Regions from separate parts of the Homo sapiens genome. Here all the other regions are linked to region 2. The links are contacts of gene promoters, found by promoter capture Hi-C in blood cells and fetal thymus (Javierre and others, 2016). All regions are on one chromosome and are shown on one strand. Each heading gives the region's core, a stretch centred on a gene start or on the middle of the fragment in contact. The rest is flanking DNA. Distances are from core to core; before and after follow the strand shown. Region 1 has its middle 3.4 kb from the start of SNX10. Region 2 holds the start of HOXA5 (homeobox A5). Region 3 overlaps HNRNPA2B1 (heterogeneous nuclear ribonucleoprotein A2/B1). Region 4 holds the start of NFE2L3 (NFE2 like bZIP transcription factor 3).

The links. Contacts are between HindIII fragments. The CHiCAGO score rates a contact against its expected background, and 5 or more counts as called.
Region 1: a fragment that was not itself captured here is called in contact with the fragment with the promoter of HOXA5 in region 2 in 1 of 17 cell types (neutrophils); the score reaches 7.2 in neutrophils.
Region 3: a fragment that was not itself captured here is called in contact with the fragment with the promoter of HOXA5 in region 2 in 1 of 17 cell types (endothelial precursors); the score reaches 6.1 in endothelial precursors.
Region 4: the fragment with the promoter of NFE2L3 here is called in contact with the fragment with the promoter of HOXA5 in region 2 in 2 of 17 cell types (endothelial precursors and erythroblasts); the score reaches 6.6 in endothelial precursors.

Annotation. Positions count from the first base shown.
Region 1 is chr7:26,287,139-26,289,838 of GRCh38, reverse strand. No RefSeq gene overlaps it. Among named protein-coding and RNA genes, the nearest start is that of SNX10, 3.4 kb to the left of the region's middle. The HindIII fragment of the contact is 6,235 bases long and covers 1-2,700 here.
Region 2 is chr7:27,142,244-27,144,943 of GRCh38, reverse strand. HOXA5 (homeobox A5) reads left to right here and starts at 1,263. Exons shown (of 2, transcript NM_019102.4): 1 at 1,263-1,898. The coding sequence starts at 1,337. The region is part of intron 1 of HOXA3 (homeobox A3); the gene reads left to right. The region is part of intron 1 of HOXA-AS3 (HOXA cluster antisense RNA 3); the gene reads right to left. The HindIII fragment of the contact is 13,335 bases long and covers 1-2,700 here.
Region 3 is chr7:26,195,549-26,198,248 of GRCh38, reverse strand. HNRNPA2B1 (heterogeneous nuclear ribonucleoprotein A2/B1) reads left to right here. Exons shown (of 11, transcript NM_002137.4): 2 at 517-627; 3 at 788-934; 4 at 1,232-1,442; 5 at 1,591-1,692; 6 at 1,768-1,848; 7 at 2,340-2,402. Among named protein-coding and RNA genes, the nearest start is that of HNRNPA2B1, 3.8 kb to the left of the region's middle. The HindIII fragment of the contact is 1,470 bases long and covers 615-2,084 here.
Region 4 is chr7:26,150,853-26,153,552 of GRCh38, reverse strand. It overlaps NFE2L3 (NFE2 like bZIP transcription factor 3), which reads right to left and starts at 1,355. Exons shown (of 4, transcript NM_004289.7): 1 at 485-1,355. The coding sequence starts at 1,054. RefSeq lists enhancers at 267-456, 1-600, 601-1,395 and silencers at 577-646, 657-906, 1,017-1,086, 1,097-1,166, 1,187-1,566. The HindIII fragment of the contact is 3,470 bases long and covers 1-2,700 here.

The DNA.
Region 1 (2,700 bases), core at 17-2,516, 860 kb after region 2:
TGACAGAGTGAGACTCTCTCTCTCAAACAAAAAAAAAAGAAAGAAACTCTGCCTACTGAGAAGATCACCATAACATTGCTTTTAAAAACAAACATCAAAATTCTTAATAGATGAGCATTTTAACCCTGAGAAGACTGAAAATTGAGTATGAGATGTGTGAAAGATTCAAGCCTGAAATATTAATATTTTGTTTTAAGGAATCTGGGCACATTTGGAATTCTATGTGCATGTTAATGTGTAAGACAACTTGGCCTACTGGAGTAACCATTTGCCTTGTACTTTAAGTTTTAAAATGTGTAATTTAATAGCTGGATACTAATGAGTTGAAGATAGTCTTATTAACTTAATAAAGTGTTGGAACACTCACTACAATTTAAGATTTACCACATTTATAAATTTAATTTATTAGATGTTGAGTTACTTGTTAATCAGACAATTAAAGACCTTTACAAGGGAAACAAATATATTAAATTCACGAATGAAGTTTAAAATGTTTAGAGGTGATTAAGTTAATGGGATCAAACATTAATCAAATGCCTTTTTGGTTGTTAAAGTTTGCTAGAGTTATAAATGGAATAAGATCACGTGTGATATTGTAAAATATGTATTTGGTCATCATCCCCATTTCCTGGTATAAAATTCTTAAAATCCTTAGAATCTCCAAAGTGATTTTTTTTGTATGCTAATGAGTTGACTGGTGGCTGGCAGCCCCTAGGTAGCTTCAGGAAGGGGCTAGTCACTGGAAAGACCACACCCTGATTAGAGGGTCAGTACTTCCAGCCCCATTCCGCAATTTCTGTGGGGTGGGGAAGGGCTGAAGATTGAGTTGATCACCAATGAACAATGGTTTAATCAATCATGCCTACATAATGAAGCCTCCATAAACACACAAGAGGACAGGGTTCAGAGAGCTTCAGGATAGCTGAACATTTACAGGTGTATGGAGGGTGGTCCACCTGAGAAGGGCATGGAAGCTCCATGCCCCTTCCCCCATGCCTCGCTCTATGCATCACTTCATCTGTATCCTTTGTACCATCTTTCTGATAAATGTATCTGTTTCCCACAGTTCTGTGAGCCACTCTAGCAAATTATTTGAACCTAAGGAGGGGGTCATGGGATCCCCAATTTATAGCTGATCAGTCAGAAACACAGGTAAAACCGCCTGAGCGGAGCTTGCAATTGTCATCAGAAGTGGGAGGAGGCAATCTTGTGGGATTGAGCCCTCAACCTGTTGGATCTGACACTGTCTCCAGGTAGGTGGTGTCAGAATTGAACCGGGGACGGGCGCAGTGGTTCATGTCTGTGATCCCAGCACTTTGGGAGGCCAAGGAGGTTGGATCACTTGAGGTCAAGGGTTCGAGACCAATCTGGCCAACATGGTGAAACCCCGTCTCTACTTAAAATACAAAATTAGCTGGGCGTGGTGGCCCATGCCTGTAATCCCAGCTACTCGGGAGGCAGAGGTGGCAGTGAGCCAAGATTGTGCCACTGCACTCCAGCCTGGGCAACAGTGAGACTCCATCTCAAAAAAAAAAAAAAGAGGAATTGAACTGTGGTGGAGAACACCCAGCTGGTGACAGCTGCAGAATTAACTGGTTGCTTGGTGTGTGGGGAGAAACCTCCACACCTTTGGTCACAGAAGCCTTCCATGTTGACTACGGAGTGAGAGCAGAAGAAAAATTTTTTCCACAGAGTTAGGAAAACTTTAAAAACTAAGGAATAATTATACTCTTAAACTTGTAACTTTAACAAATCAAATATTCTAAAAATAGCATCAAAACAATATTTTCTGTTCACAAGAACTACTCTTGGAGGCGTACACACACACACAAACCACATAAACAATTATGACCAGGCCAGGCATGGTGGCTCACGCCTGTAATCCTAGCACTTTGGGAGGCCAAGGCGGGCAGATCACCCGAGGTCAGGAGTCCCAAGACCAACCTGGCCAACATGGTGAAAACCCATCTCTACTACAAATACAAAAAATTAACCAGGCATGGTGGCACATACCTGTAATCCCAGCTACTCGGGAGGCTGAGGCAGAAGAATTGCTTGAACCTAGAGGGGGAAGTTGCAGTGAGCCGAGATTGCGCCACTGCACTCCAGCCTGGGCAACAGAGCGAGACTCCATCTCAAAAAAAAAGAAAAAATATATATATAATCATTTCTGCCTCTCTTGGTATAATGTCCTTATGCTGGGGAAAGATATTTTATTCTGTGTCTTATGGACTATCTTCTCGGTTCTTTGTATTTAGGGCTGTAACGGGAGCATTTGAGGAACATTTTGCTTTCTTGTATTTGTGGTAGATGTACTACTACACCAGCTTCATAGGGCTGTTGTGGAGTTTAAATGAAATAACCCGGGTAAAGCTCTTGTGCTGGGTCAACAGTAAGTGTTCAGTAAATTGTAGCTATTATTATAACTTGATCCTTTTCTCCAATCTCTCCTGTCTCGAAGCTAAGTGCACTTAGTTACATACACTAAGGAAAGCCACCTCCACCCCCTGTCCTTCCTCCATCTCTTGGGAAAATTGCAAAATCCACAGAGAGTAAAAATGGAAGTTGCCTGGACTTGATGTTCAGAAATTTTAATTAACTGATAATATACATAACATTGTGTTCAAAAACACTTTGCCTTTACATTTACATGAATGGTTCTGCCTTCTTGGGAAACCTGTCACAGGAAATATTTGCAAT
Region 2 (2,700 bases), core at 14-2,513:
CTCCCAGCCTCCGATAGCGCCCGCGTCGCCGCCACAGCAGCGTTCAGGACCCAACGAGGGGCCCAGGGCCATGGGAGCCGCCAGAGTCCTGGCTTCCAGACGTGCCAGGGGCGCCTGCAACGCCGGGCCTCCAGCGGGGAGACTCCACTTGCCTCTCAGCTATATTTGTGATTTACTTGAGTCTTTCGGAGCCGTGGAAAATAACTACAGAGATACTAGGCACTGCCAAGGAATGCTTCCATTATCGCCCTCATTTTACTCCTGGAGGTCTAAGCAAGACCCCAGTAACCCGCCCCACGGATCCCCAGACCCCAGGCAGCCTCTGTGGCTGCAGGGAGCCTGGGCCCACTCGCTGGGTTCAAGGAGAACCCTCCGACTTGGGGCCCGGCTGGCTCGAGGAACCGGACCCTGTGATGAAGATTTTCCAGGCTGGATACGTAAGCAAATCAAATCGCAAACTAATGACACGAAAACCATATTCACACGAAAGAAAAATCGACTACGGTTATAAAAGTGTATGGAATTTGACCTCGCCTTGGAGAAACACTACACAAAAGCTATCTTTAATAGACGCCTGTCATTTAAGAGCGGCAGGGACACTGTCCCTCATGCGCTCGCAAAAACAGAGCCGTAATTGTAGCTGCTGCTGCTGCGGGCAGGATTTATTTCTCCAATTGGCTAAATGGCTTTCCCCCTTCCCCGAAGGTGATATCTGTATTTTCAAAATTCAGAGCTGCTGGCAGGACGGTCAGTACCGACCCCAACCTCGACACAAAAATAAGAGGGGCTGCAAAACGGGGGAAATAAAGTTGTTGTAAATAAAATGCAAGTCACCACCTCCCCCCAATCCTCTGCATCCTCGCCGGGCGCGCGATCGGCAGCTGACGGCCTAACAATTGGTACATCCTAATGGAACTGCGAGGGAAATGCAATAATTTTGCCATAATGGGCTGTAACCTCAATTCGACCCCGGCCCTTGCAGCCCCCGGTCGGAAGCTGGGCGATGAGCCCTGCCTCCAGCGGGTGGCGCTCGAGTCCGGCTGAACGGCGGCAACTGGCGGCGGGCACGCGCCCGGGGCGCGCGCGCCACCCCCCTCGCCTCCACCCAACTCCCCTATTAGTGCACGAGTTTACCTCTAGAGGTCATCAGGCAGGATTTACGACTGGACAACAAAAGCACGTGATTCGAAGTCGTACCCCATATTTGGGTGCCTACGTAGGAGGGAACCAAGTACATGTCCCAGTCATTTCCATAATTCATCATAAATTGTGCAAGGGTGCTATAGACGCACAAACGACCGCGAGCCACAAATCAAGCACACATATCAAAAAACAAATGAGCTCTTATTTTGTAAACTCATTTTGCGGTCGCTATCCAAATGGCCCGGACTACCAGTTGCATAATTATGGAGATCATAGTTCCGTGAGCGAGCAATTCAGGGACTCGGCGAGCATGCACTCCGGCAGGTACGGCTACGGCTACAATGGCATGGATCTCAGCGTCGGCCGCTCGGGCTCCGGCCACTTTGGCTCCGGAGAGCGCGCCCGCAGCTACGCTGCCAGCGCCAGCGCGGCGCCCGCCGAGCCCAGGTACAGCCAGCCGGCCACGTCCACGCACTCTCCTCAGCCCGATCCGCTGCCCTGCTCCGCCGTGGCCCCCTCGCCCGGCAGCGACAGCCACCACGGCGGGAAAAACTCCCTAAGCAACTCCAGCGGCGCCTCGGCCGACGCCGGCAGCACCCACATCAGCAGCAGAGAGGGGGTTGGCACGGCGTCCGGAGCCGAGGAGGACGCCCCTGCCAGCAGCGAGCAGGCGAGTGCGCAGAGCGAGCCGAGCCCGGCGCCGCCCGCCCAACCCCAGATCTACCCCTGGATGCGCAAGCTGCACATAAGTCATGGTAAAGCCAGCCTTTTTCTAAATCCACGCGACCGCGGGGACGCGGCTCTCGGTCCCCCCTCTCTTCTCTGCCGCCCTCTCCCAGTCTCTCTTGGTCTCATTTCTCCCAGCCCTGCGGAGCTCTCCTTGCCGTTCTCCCTCCCCTGCCTTCCTCCTTCCTCCTCTTCTTTGCGAGCACCCTGCGCTCACAAATAGTGGGGGAAATGGGCGTTCTCTGGGACAGTTTAGACGTTGGAAGGGGGAGGAAGCAAAAAACCCCTCTGGAACCCCACGCCTTGGGACGCGCTCCCGGGTCAGGCCAGCCGAGCAAGGCGCAGAGAGGTAGAGGATGGCTGTAGCAGCCGTGAATCGGGCTTGTCACGGCGGATAATTTATGAGGAGGGCTACGCTGGGGAAACAGCGTTACTAATTACAGCCCCCGAAAAGGGGCTTGGGGGAAAGAATCGAGGCGAGAGCCTGCAGGATTCTGAATTTTGGGGGCAGGAGGGAGAGAGAAGGAAAGGGAAGAAAAAGAAAACAGGCTCCCCAACCCTGCAGGCTGGAAACGGGAGGCGGCTCTCGGGGCTGGAACTTTGAGGGAGGGTGACCCGAAGGCCACTTGGGCGCTCAGGAAAGGGCCTTGCTTCCTGGGTTTCTGTGCGGTGGGCAGCCTGGGAGGGCTGTGCCTCCCGATCGGGGCGCCCGGGGCAGGGCGGAGGGGGCAGGAGAGGGGCCAGGGAAAGCCGGAGTCCGCCGGGACACGGCCCCAGCCTCAGATGGGCAGATTGTTCCCAGGGTCCAAATCGTATTGTTTTCTTTCTAGA
Region 3 (2,700 bases), core at 100-2,599, 950 kb after region 2:
GGGGCAGTTAAGGGAAAATAAATGATACTTTTCAGATATTGAATAGTGAAATAAAAACTTTGGGTCATAAGTAATGAACCAAGAGTTATTTTCTGATGTTTAAAAATAGAAATTTGCGTTTTTAGGTTGTAGGGTTGAAATTTTTGGTAAAGATTCTTTAATAATCCTTTGATAATCACGGTCTACATTTGTTTATTTTTCCTTAGAAAGTTTTTTTTTTAATTAATAATTTAAGATAATTTAATGTTGAGTAAATTTATATCAAGCATTAATGACTTTGAAACTTGTGTAGATCAGCTGAGGCAATTTTTTGGTGTAACACAACTAATATGCAGTTTAACATATGGTTTAAATTTGATGTAAGTTTTTTTTTTCCCCCCAGAAAACTTTAGAAACTGTTCCTTTGGAGAGGAAAAAGGTACTCTGCCAGCAGGTCACCTCATATTTAAGAATTTAATTTCCTGCATACAAAGAGGAAAATGTAAATAAAAATTGAAATGGTATTTTCCTTTGCAGAGAGAAAAGGAACAGTTCCGTAAGCTCTTTATTGGTGGCTTAAGCTTTGAAACCACAGAAGAAAGTTTGAGGAACTACTACGAACAATGGGGAAAGCTTACAGACTGTGTGGTATGTAAATTACTGAATTGTTACTGGATATTAGTCTTTTAGCTGTATGTTAAGTGAATCATGGAGGAAATAACTATCAGCATAGTAAAAAATTCTATTATGACTTCACTTATAAGCTATAATGAGATTAAATGCTAAAGTTTACCCTTTGGTTTGAAAGGTAATGAGGGATCCTGCAAGCAAAAGATCAAGAGGATTTGGTTTTGTAACTTTTTCATCCATGGCTGAGGTTGATGCTGCCATGGCTGCAAGACCTCATTCAATTGATGGGAGAGTAGTTGAGCCAAAACGTGCTGTAGCAAGAGAGGTAAGCAAACAATGACTGTCTTGTGCATTAACATGAAGAACGCTGCCCTGCTGAAAATCAGAAACTATTTCTGAATTTAGTTTTAACTCAAGATTTTTTCTCTTATTAAAGGTGTGTTGGGTTTCTGGACCATTTTCTTAAGCTAGCTTATTTTTCAAAAGCTAGGTCCCTAAAAGCTATTTTATATCTGGTAGTTTTAAGGTGGATACAAGCGAAGTATGGTACTACGGTTGGGTGCTTTGAATTATGCTTGTGTTTTTTTCTGTTTGGATGACTTTTACCCCACCACTATTTTAGGAATCTGGAAAACCAGGGGCTCATGTAACTGTGAAGAAGCTGTTTGTTGGCGGAATTAAAGAAGATACTGAGGAACATCACCTTAGAGATTACTTTGAGGAATATGGAAAAATTGATACCATTGAGATAATTACTGATAGGCAGTCTGGAAAGAAAAGAGGCTTTGGCTTTGTTACTTTTGATGACCATGATCCTGTGGATAAAATCGTATGTAAGTGTCTAACCACAAATGTACTGTTTTTTTCCAGTGTATTCAATTTTGTGTATGTTAACATCTGTAACTTTATTGAAAGGTAAACTTTTGAAGCTGCTTAATATTGTTGATTTAATTTAAAAGGAGTCTGAATTTTTCATTCCAGTGCAGAAATACCATACCATCAATGGTCATAATGCAGAAGTAAGAAAGGCTTTGTCTAGACAAGAAATGCAGGAAGTTCAGAGTTCTAGGAGTGGAAGAGGAGGTAATTTTAATTCTGTTTCTTCTTTATTTTTGTTCATATATAAGGGCTTGCTTCTAACTGGGGCATTTATTGTAGGCAACTTTGGCTTTGGGGATTCACGTGGTGGCGGTGGAAATTTCGGACCAGGACCAGGAAGTAACTTTAGAGGAGGATCTGGTGAGTTTCAAGTTCTACGTGTTTAAAGGATGAGTGTGCTTTTATTTTAAATATGATTAGGTTTTCATTAGTAGAATCAAGAAATCCAACCTAAGTCAATTTTCCTAAGACTTCAAATAGATTGTATCCTGGCAAGCTCTTGTGATTTGGCCAGACAAGAAGTTAATAGAGTTGTATTAATAACAGTTGTATTTATCTGGATTAATAATGTAACATGAAGTGTCATCCGAAAAGCTTTGACCCCCATCAAGTGTCATTCTTACGTATAAATAGGATGGAATCTCTAAGATTGAGACTTGTTAAGAGTCCAAAATTTAGGCGGTAGATTTAATTATATGCTTTCATGTTTTGTGGGTAAACTGGTAGCACTGGTGTGTCCTTTTCTGCGGTTCTTAATTATTGTGCTGAGGTAGTAAGAGAACTGAAAATGAATATTAGCAATAATGCTGAACAGTTTATAGTAAACGTAATCTTTTTTTGGCCCCTAACAGATGGATATGGCAGTGGACGTGGATTTGGGGATGGCTATAATGGGTATGGAGGAGGACCTGGAGGTCAGTTTTCCTCTACGTTTTGGTTTGTTTATGTGACTAATACTTAACTATATCGTATATTTACTTCATTTATATTTTGAGTTTTTAAACATTTTATATTAGTGTCTATAAATGGCTTGGGTGATAGTGGTCCAGTTATTTCTAAGTAGTTTTGCCATCTTAGCTGTTATAGCCTAAGGAATAGAGTGCCATTTTAAATGAAAATGTAAAGATAACCATCAGAGTATCTCATCTTTTCTCAAGCAAAATGATTGGATCTAGATATATCTTTGTACGTGCTTCTCTGGAAAAGTACAGA
Region 4 (2,700 bases), core at 106-2,605, 990 kb after region 2:
CAAAAACGAACAGCAATTGGGCTGAAAACAGGGCGAAGGTCCTTGCGTTAGGCCGGGAGAGTCGTTCTTAAAAACATGCATCCTCCCAGAGGTCACGGCCTCCTTCACATCGTCCAGGTCGGGCACGGGTCCCAGAGAACGACACCCCAGTGTACATGAGGTACTGAGCGAAGACAGTGGGCATTGCTTCTCCCCTCCCCATCCCCGAACTACTCTTGCCAGCCATCACACACAAGGAAAGGTATTCTCTATAACCAAACGGATGATTTCGTCCACTTCTTCCTTAAACACCTAAAAACCACAGCGACAGCACTAGTAGCCCTTCATTCGGAATCAGAGCAGCAGCATCTGCGAACCTGCAAAGACCAGGGGCTAAGGGTGCCAGGACACAGCGAGAGTGGCCCCTGCTCAGATCCGACACAAGCCTCGGGGGCTCCCGGCGGCGTAGACGCCGCACTTCGCTCGCTTCCCGCTCTGCACCTACCTCGCTCGCACATCCGCCAGCGTCCGGCACCTGAGCCGTCGGTTCCGCGGGTGCCTTCTCCTCTTCCCCGGCGTCCAAGGGGCCACTCCGAGCCGCTCGGGGGTCCCCGCCGCCCCCCTGCACAGCCTGGCTGCCGCCGTCCACGCTGGCGCCGGCTCCTCCGGTGGACGAGGCGGCGGCGGCGCCGAGCAGCCCGTGGGCCTCGTCCGCGCTCCCGGCAGCCACGCTGTGCACCAGCCATGCATCCACGCTGGTGCGAGGGACGAAGGGGACCCCGAGCGCGCGCACCTCCCGGAGCAGCTGGCCCTCGGGCGGCGCGGCAGGGTCCAGCTCCCGGCCCTTGGGGTGCAAGTGGCCCGCGCGCCCCCACCCTCCCGAGGCCGAGAAGGGGCTGAGCGCGTAGGCGGAGCTGGCCGGGCCGCCCAGGAACAGCAGCTCGTCCTGCAGCAGGGTGGGCGGCGGCAGCAGCAGGTAAAGATCTAGGTCTACGCGGAGCCCCGCCAAGCTCAGCAGGAGGGTGAGGTGCAGGAGGCCGCCGCCGGCCGACCACCACCGCTTCAGGTGCTTCATCGCCGCCGCGCGCCCGGGAACGCCCCTGCCGGCGCCCGCGGGTCCCGGCGCCCCAGCCGCCGGGGTGACACGTGCGGACCCCGCGCGCCGCCCGCACCTGCCTGGAACCCAGATAAGCGAAACAATGGACCGGGGCGCGTGGCGGCCGTCGCGGGTTCCCAGCACCGGGCACAAAGGCGTTCCCTCGGCAGCCGGCACCGTGCCTGGCACCGCCGGGGATCGGGAGAAGCGAAGAAGGAGCCACCTGAGCGCCGAGCCCGTTCGCCCAGCCGCCCGCAGCCCGGCGCGGTGGCCAAGCTCCGCCCCCGGCCGCGGGCGCAGCCGACAGGAACACGCCCCCTGCCGCCCGGGGCCCGCGCCCGTGGGAGGGGCCGCACGGGGCGGGGCTCCCCGAGCTCAAAGCCTCTTTATGTCCGGGGAACGCAAGGCTTTCTGGGAGCAGAAGTTGTTCTGGGCACCAAGTGGCCCCTTGCCACCCTGTGGCCGTGAGCTGGGCCATCCTTGCTGAAAGCCAAGGGCGGGAGTTGGGGTGGAGGGCTAGGTGGTGGGTAGCTGGGTGGGAAGGGACAGGATGTGTAGACTGGGCGGAGAGTGACTGGGCAGCTACGAGGGGCCTGGCAGCTTGCAACGGGCTTCCACCCCAACGTGAGGACACTTGGCGGGCAGAGTGGGCAAGAGTAACCTCTCTGTCTCAGTTCCGCTATCTGTAAAATGGGGATCATAGAGCCTGTCAAACAGGGATGTGTTGAGGTCAGATGAAATATTTCGTGTAAAGTTCGGAGTTTCACATATAAATTCCACCGTTGCCATTGGGATCAGTCATCCCACCACTCCGCACACCCCAGTCCCAGCCTCACAGACCCCTCTCTCTTCTCTGGGCGTGCTCTGCATAGTGCTAGACCTCCTCTCGGTATCCTTTGCTCCTTATCCGTTGTTTCCTTGAGGGTTGACAGCACCAGCTCTACAGTTACCCTGAGTGAGTTCAAGTCCCCCCTCCACTTGAGGGGCGACCTTGGACAAATCTCTCCTTTTCTCTGTGCCTCAGTTTTCTCACTGTAAAATGAGACTAATAATAGCACCTCCCCAGCAGACCTTTTGTGAGCCCCAAATGAGATAATGCATGTAAACCACCGACCACAGCACTGCATGGGTAGGAAGTGCTCCCTGCTACCCATTGTTTGTGTTACTCACCCTCAAGGCTTAGCTCCAAAGCTACATCCTCTGAATTTTCACCAGTTGGCATTAATCTCTCCCCCATCTGTTGCACCGTGATTTCTCCGTTTGCCAACATTGTAACAGTTGGCCCATTCAACTCTGTGTTGTAGATGAGAATCGGTCTGATTTGCCCATTGTAAATTCTTGAGGACAAGGAACCTGTTTGGTTCACCTTTGTCCATGCACAGTACCCAGCACTGGGCCTTGCAAGGGTAGGTTTTACTAACCTTAGCTCCCTTCCTTGGAAGAAAAGGGGACAGGAGGGGATGCCCAACTGAGAATGGGCAGTTGTGTAAAAAGTTGAGCAAGACTTGTTTTAAAAGGCCCCTCCCTCCACCTGGCTTTCTCATCTCTCTCCTGGGCTAGTGTAGTAAGAAGAGAAAAGAATGGGGACCAGGGGAGCAGAAACAGGGGAGCAGAGGAAAGTTGCT